Regions from separate parts of the Homo sapiens genome. Here region 1 is linked to region 2. The links are contacts of gene promoters, found by promoter capture Hi-C in blood cells and fetal thymus (Javierre and others, 2016). All regions are on one chromosome and are shown on one strand. The core of a region is centred on a gene start or on the middle of the fragment in contact, and the rest is flanking DNA. Distances in the headings are between cores, read along the strand shown.

What was found. Contacts are between HindIII fragments. The CHiCAGO score rates a contact against its expected background, and 5 or more counts as called.
Region 1: a contact is called between the fragment with the promoter of ADAM10 here and a fragment that was not itself captured in region 2, in 1 of 17 cell types (fetal thymus). The highest score is 7.8, in fetal thymus.

The regions. Positions count from the first base shown.
Region 1 is chr15:58,748,327-58,751,094 of GRCh38, reverse strand. It overlaps ADAM10 (ADAM metallopeptidase domain 10), which reads left to right and starts at 1,388. Exons shown (of 16, transcript NM_001110.4): 1 at 1,388-1,615. The coding sequence starts at 1,561. RefSeq lists enhancers at 769-948, 2,039-2,168, 1,620-2,255 and silencers at 1,019-1,308, 1,639-1,928. The HindIII fragment of the contact is 2,079 bases long and covers 585-2,663 here.
Region 2 is chr15:57,704,118-57,707,351 of GRCh38, reverse strand. GCOM1 (GCOM1, MYZAP-POLR2M combined locus) reads right to left here. Exons shown (of 17, transcript NR_104371.3): 14 at 980-1,418. It overlaps POLR2M (RNA polymerase II subunit M), which reads right to left and starts at 638. Exons shown (of 4, transcript NM_015532.5): 1 at 397-638. The coding sequence starts at 509. RefSeq lists a silencer at 154-203 and an enhancer at 524-743. The HindIII fragment of the contact is 3,240 bases long and covers 29-3,234 here.

The sequences.
Region 1 (2,768 bases), core at 139-2,638, 1.0 Mb before region 2:
ACTCCGTCTCAAAAAAAAAAAAATTCTCTTCACTTATGTTAATGGTAATAAATGGTATAAAATATACAGGTAACAGTATAGGAATTCCAGTTTATTACAGTATCAATAACATTAAGGCCGAGCGCAGTGGCTCACGCCTGTAATCCCAGCACTTGTGGGAGGCCGAGGCGGGAGGATCGCTTGAGTTGGAGGTTACAGTGAGCTATGATCACACCACTGCACTTCAGCCTGGCGAGACAGCGGATACCTTGTCTTTAGAAAGCAAAACAAAACAATTTACACACACACACACACACACACACTCTCCCTAATTCGGCTTGAGTTGGAGGTTACAGTGAGCTATGATCACACCACTGCACTTCAGCCTGGCGAGACAGCGGAGACCTTGTCTTTAGAAAGCAAAACAAAACAATTTACACATACACACACACACACACGCACACACACACTCTCCCTAATTCGGCCTACTCAAGCACGATACCAAATAGATGAAGAATATCTAATTAAATGGCCATAAAAAGTTCTAGTTCATGACATCCAAGTTTAAAGAATCAAAATGAGTTACGAGAAAACAAACACAAGCTTTAAGAAGTTGGGGAGAAGATGTGCGTGGATTCGCTTCAAAGATGTGACAGAGAGAAAAGAGGACATTTTCTGGACTGGAGATTCAAGACAGTCTGGTTCAGGTTGCATGCTTTTGCAAAGGCTAAAGCCTTAGTCTGTGACATAAATTTGTAAAGAGCTCGGAAAATTACATCTCGGACATGGTGTCTTTTTTTCCTGCTGCTTGAAGGTCTTTGCATTTATGTTCGCATCACTGGGGCAGCTGCCGCTATAATTACTGCTTGTTGGGACTTTTTGTTTACTTGGTAGCTGTGGTGCACCAAGAGAGGCAGAAAAAGAAGAAAAAAAACCTCTGTTACTTGTGACGTTAAGAAGTCGAAAGCAGCCCTGCTTACATCTTCCACGGACCATTTTAGCCCAAGGGAAGGTCCTCAGCAGCTCTAACACGTAGCGGAGCACTATCTCCGCGTAGGAGCGCTCCCGCCCCGGGGCGGGACCAGGACAAACCCCGCCTCCCAAGCCCAATCCCAGCTCTCCGCCGGCGGACAGGAAGCGGCGGCAGGCCTAGCAGCACGGGAACCGTCCCCCGCGCGCATGCGCGCGCCCCTGAAGCGCCTGGGGGACGGGTAGGGGCGGGAGGTAGGGGCGCGGCTCCGCGTGCCAGTTGGGTGCCCGCGCGTCACGTGGTGAGGAAGGAGGCGGAGGTCTGAGTTTCGAAGGAGGGGGGGAGAGAAGAGGGAACGAGCAAGGGAAGGAAAGCGGGGAAAGGAGGAAGGAAACGAACGAGGGGGAGGGAGGTCCCTGTTTTGGAGGAGCTAGGAGCGTTGCCGGCCCCTGAAGTGGAGCGAGAGGGAGGTGCTTCGCCGTTTCTCCTGCCAGGGGAGGTCCCGGCTTCCCGTGGAGGCTCCGGACCAAGCCCCTTCAGCTTCTCCCTCCGGATCGATGTGCTGCTGTTAACCCGTGAGGAGGCGGCGGCGGCGGCAGCGGCAGCGGAAGATGGTGTTGCTGAGAGTGTTAATTCTGCTCCTCTCCTGGGCGGCGGGGATGGGAGGTGAGGCACGACTGCGAGCGCCGGGGGCGCCGCGACCACGGCGGAGCGGCGGCCGGGCCGAGCGGAGCCCAGTCGCGCCTCGCGGCGTGCGCGTCAGTCAGCCCAGCCGGCCAGCGGCGCCACTCTGGCGGGCCGCGCTCCCCGCTCCCTATTGTCCCCCGCGCCCCGACCGCTTTCCCTTCGGTGGCGGGCCGAGGAGGCTCCCAAGCCTCCGGCGAGGCCTTCCCCGCCCCCCACCGCCCTGGCGGCCCCGGGAGGCGGGGGTCGCCTCCCAGAGAAGCGAAGTCGGGGCATCCGCGTCGCCTGGTGAGAGCGGTGGAACCCAGGCTGGTGGCTGCATCCCTCCAGTCTGCTCGGCGGGCGCCGGTGCAGGCAGCCGCAGCGAGGCTGGCGGTCTCGCCGTCCTCGTTCAGCGCTCATCCTGCTCACCATTCCTCCCCCAGCCCCTGCCCGGTGGCGGATTCCGAAGTCCTCTCCGCCGCCGAGACCCGCCGCGCAGACTCGTGGGAAGTTGTGTTGTTTGCAGCTGGGCTCGTGTATTGTTCTTTACCCGGCGCGCCGGTCCTGACCGACCCCATTCTGCAGAGGGGCCGCCCGTGGAGTGGCAGCAGTCATCACCCGCTTATCTGAGACTAGTGGCCTCGGTTCTTCCTGTGTCCTGTGTTTGGAGAGAGATCACAGGAGGGTGTGTTGGTGTTCTTGAAAACATTCTGTCGCCCAGGGGAAAGGGTTTGGTCGGGAGAAGGGTAAACCATTTGGGGATGTTCTTTGATTTGTAGGCTGGATTGGGTCTCTTAGAGTAGAAGTTCGGTCCCTGGGTGACCCAACTTGAAGAGTTTCGTTAAACTTTCAGGTGGAGTAGATGTACAGTGTAGTTAGTGGATTGTCAAAACAGTGCCCCCTCCCCCCTGCACATGAAAGTCAAATTTGCTAAAAGCATGTCATTTCTTGTTTCGGGTTTTGAAGACAACGATTTTTATTTCCGGTGTGTTCTAGGACCAGCTGCATCATTTTATTCTTGCTTAAAGTGCTTTATTTTAGGTAAGCTTTTTGACTTGCCCCAGAGTAAACTTAAAAACCTCAAGGTGTGCCTAAAAGCAACGATTGAAAAAATTTGAGGAATGCTTTGGATGAGTGTCTGTAGCCTTTGATA
Region 2 (3,234 bases), core at 399-2,898:
TTCCCATTTCCTACGGTTCCTGTAAGCTTAGAATCCAGAGATGAAGCTGACAATCTGTTATGGGTTAGGGGTGCGGGCGACAAAAGGGTTTAGAAAGCAGACTCATGGAACCACCACAGTCCCCGGGTAAATAAAACCGACCAGGGGCTACTAACTCCCTGCAACGCCAGGTAGCCGTTCAATCCGAGCTATCCTCGCAGGCATACGTGCCTGGCCAGGAAGAGGCACGGCTCTGCCGCAGCAAGCCCTCCGTCCACTCGCCCGTAGGACTGAAGCGAATGTGACTGAGTCAAAGTCACCTTCCAGGGAAGGGAACAGAGTGCGGGAGGGGAGGGGAGCGCCCAGGGAGCTCGAGCTGAAGGAGCCTGGCGGAGACTCCGCGGGACCCCAGCTTACTCGTTGCGCAAAAGTCTCTCCTGGCGCTTCAACATTTCCCGCAGCTCCACCAAACTCCGCTGCGCCAAGTCCTCGGGAGCTTGGGGCTCGAAGCCGCGGGGCAGCGAGCACATTCTGCGCGGGCTGAGGCTGGCGCGGCGGCGGGCACTCGGCTTCCTCGGCAGGCCCCGCTACTAGCGCCGGATCCGCGGACGGCGGTGACTCCGGGGCACGAGCGGGAGTCGCCATTTTCCCGGAAGAACGGGGTCTTCTTCGAGCCGAATCGAGCTTTATTGAAATTCCGGAAACAAACACGGACTGGGAGAAGGGGGCGTCCGCAGGAGCGTTAAAGGGCGGAAGTTACGTCGGATGACGCCGGCTCCTTGGCTTGGCGCCCTTTCCCCTTGTGTGAGCATTCATGCGGTCATCAGCTGTTCGTCGGTTTATACAAAAAGTATTCAGCGCCAGCGTGACCTCACCAAGCACTATGTGTCAGTCAACAAATAGCAACGTCCTGTGTTATACTTGGGGTTTACAGAGTTGGCGGGGGGATGGGGGGAGGGAGAATCAAATTATGATATAATAGTAACGTTGGGATGGGCACCTGGGAAGATATCTCTGAGAAGTGGTTCAAGTCGAAACTTGAAAGATGAGCTGGCCATTAATAAGGTGGGAGAGAGTGCGGGACAGGATTTGGGAGACTCTGGCCTGTGCGTGGTGCCTCCGGCCTGTGCGTGGTGCCTCCTAGCTCAGCTTAGGGACGTCCTGAAATTGTTAAAGTTGGAAGGTTCCTCAGAATCAGCGATTTTTCTTGGGGCTCAATGCATTTGGAGAAGGACTTCATTTGTAGCACCGCCTCAAGCATTGTTAAGACATTTGGTGTTTCTGGCTTCTGCCTGCTAGGTGCTATGGCACTCCCAAGTCATTGCAACAATCCAAAATGTCTCCTCCAACATACATTTCCAAAGGCCCACAAGAGGTGATGAGGGAGTGGGAGCAGCTGTACAAACTCGTTGAGGACCTTTTCGAATTTTCTACTTTGCCTATAGAAAAACAGAGGCATGAAAACTGAAATAAATATTCCCAGGGCACAAAACCAGTAAGTGACAGCACCAGATTTCAAACTCAAAAGCCCAGCCCCTTTTCCAACACACCAATTTGAAAATCCCCTTCTTCACTTTAGGCCTATTTCCAAATGTGTAAAACTGTTGAAAAGACTTCCCTCCGCCCCCCCCCACCCCCGCCACCTCCCCAGCTGTTGAGAAGAAGGCAGCTTAATAGGTATTGGACACAGCTTTTACCTTCTCGTTATAGTTCAGCTACCAGAGGTGCATCCCAGTGGAAAGAGTAGGAAGACATGCAGTCACAGCAGATGTCACTTGGGAGGTTTGAACACCCCCATAACCCACCGCCCTCCCCCGATTTTTTGATATAGGAAATTGAAGTTGTCTCAATCCTGTGTAAGATGCTATATAAACACAAGCAGCTCTGTCCTAAAGAGACAGAAGATCTAGGTAAACTCCAAAGCTATTCCAGGGAGCACAATTGCAACCATTTATCTATCCCCCCAATCTGGTCCATTCTGATCAGATTCATTAATATATCAAAATAAGTTTTCTCTGTATAAGACTTGCTTTCAAGGACGTTAATAACGTGCTGCAGCATTGGCTGAATGAGAAATAGGTAAGGTCCTCGAGTCAGGTGGTTGTCTGTGGTACTGACAAAAAAAAAAAAAAAAGACTCCGTAAAATGTTGAAGAGATGTATTCTGTGCCAAATATGAGTGACCATGGCCCGTGACACAGCCCTCAGGAGATCCTGAGAACACGTGCCTAAGGTGGTTGGTGCACAGCTTGGTTTTATACATTTTAGGGAGACATGAGACATCAATCAAATACATTTAAGATAAACATTGGCTTAATCCACAAAGGTGGGACAACTCAAAGCAGAGCGGGTGTGGGGCAAGATGGGCTCCCAAGTTATAGGTAAATTTAAGTTTTTTTCTGATTGGTAATTGATTTAAAGGAATGTCTAGGTTAGCATAAGAACTTGTGGAGACCGAAATTTTATCATGCAGATGAAGCCTCCAGTTAGCAGGCTTCAGAGAAAGTAAGTTGTGTTTCTTATCAGACTCAAGGTATATGTGTTGATATTAAATGCTGTGTAGCTTTTCCTGGATTCTAAAAGAAAGAAGGGCATAATGAGGCATGTCTGACCTCAGCTTCCCATCATGGCCTAAGCCAGTCTTTTAGGTTAAATTTGGAGGACCCTGGACTACAGGAGGAAGTCCATTCAGACGGTTGAGGGCGGACCTTCAAATTTTATTTTTGGTTTACAGTGATAAGCACCCCGCAAGCCTCCCTCACCCCACCCCTGGACCCCAGCTGGAGGCCTTTATTTCTCCCACAGTAGTGAACTCCCCATGTGCTGATTGTAGGCCACAGGTGTCCCCAAGGCAAGGATGCCTTTCTTTTAGGCCTCAGAATTTTGCCCCCTTCTGTTACCCTTTTGTGGAAGGCTATCTCTTCTCCCCTTGCCAATTGTAAGTCTTGGCTGAAGTCTCACCTCCTCCCTGAACCTTCCCATGTTATTCCAAACCAAACTTCTCTTTCTTTTCAGCACAATTATAGGGCTTAGTTAAAGTTGGAACCTCACTGCATGAAGCATATTATACTTCTCTAATTGTGTTATGCATCGAGATTTCTTTTTCCTTTCCTAACAAAATTGTAAAGTCCTTTCTGTGAGGGAGCTATAATTGTACTTTTTCTGTCTCCTCTCAGGAACATAGCATGTAGTAATTGACACAATCTCCTTCTCTCATATTTTTTTCTCTACCTTTCCCCCATATTCCTCTTTCTCT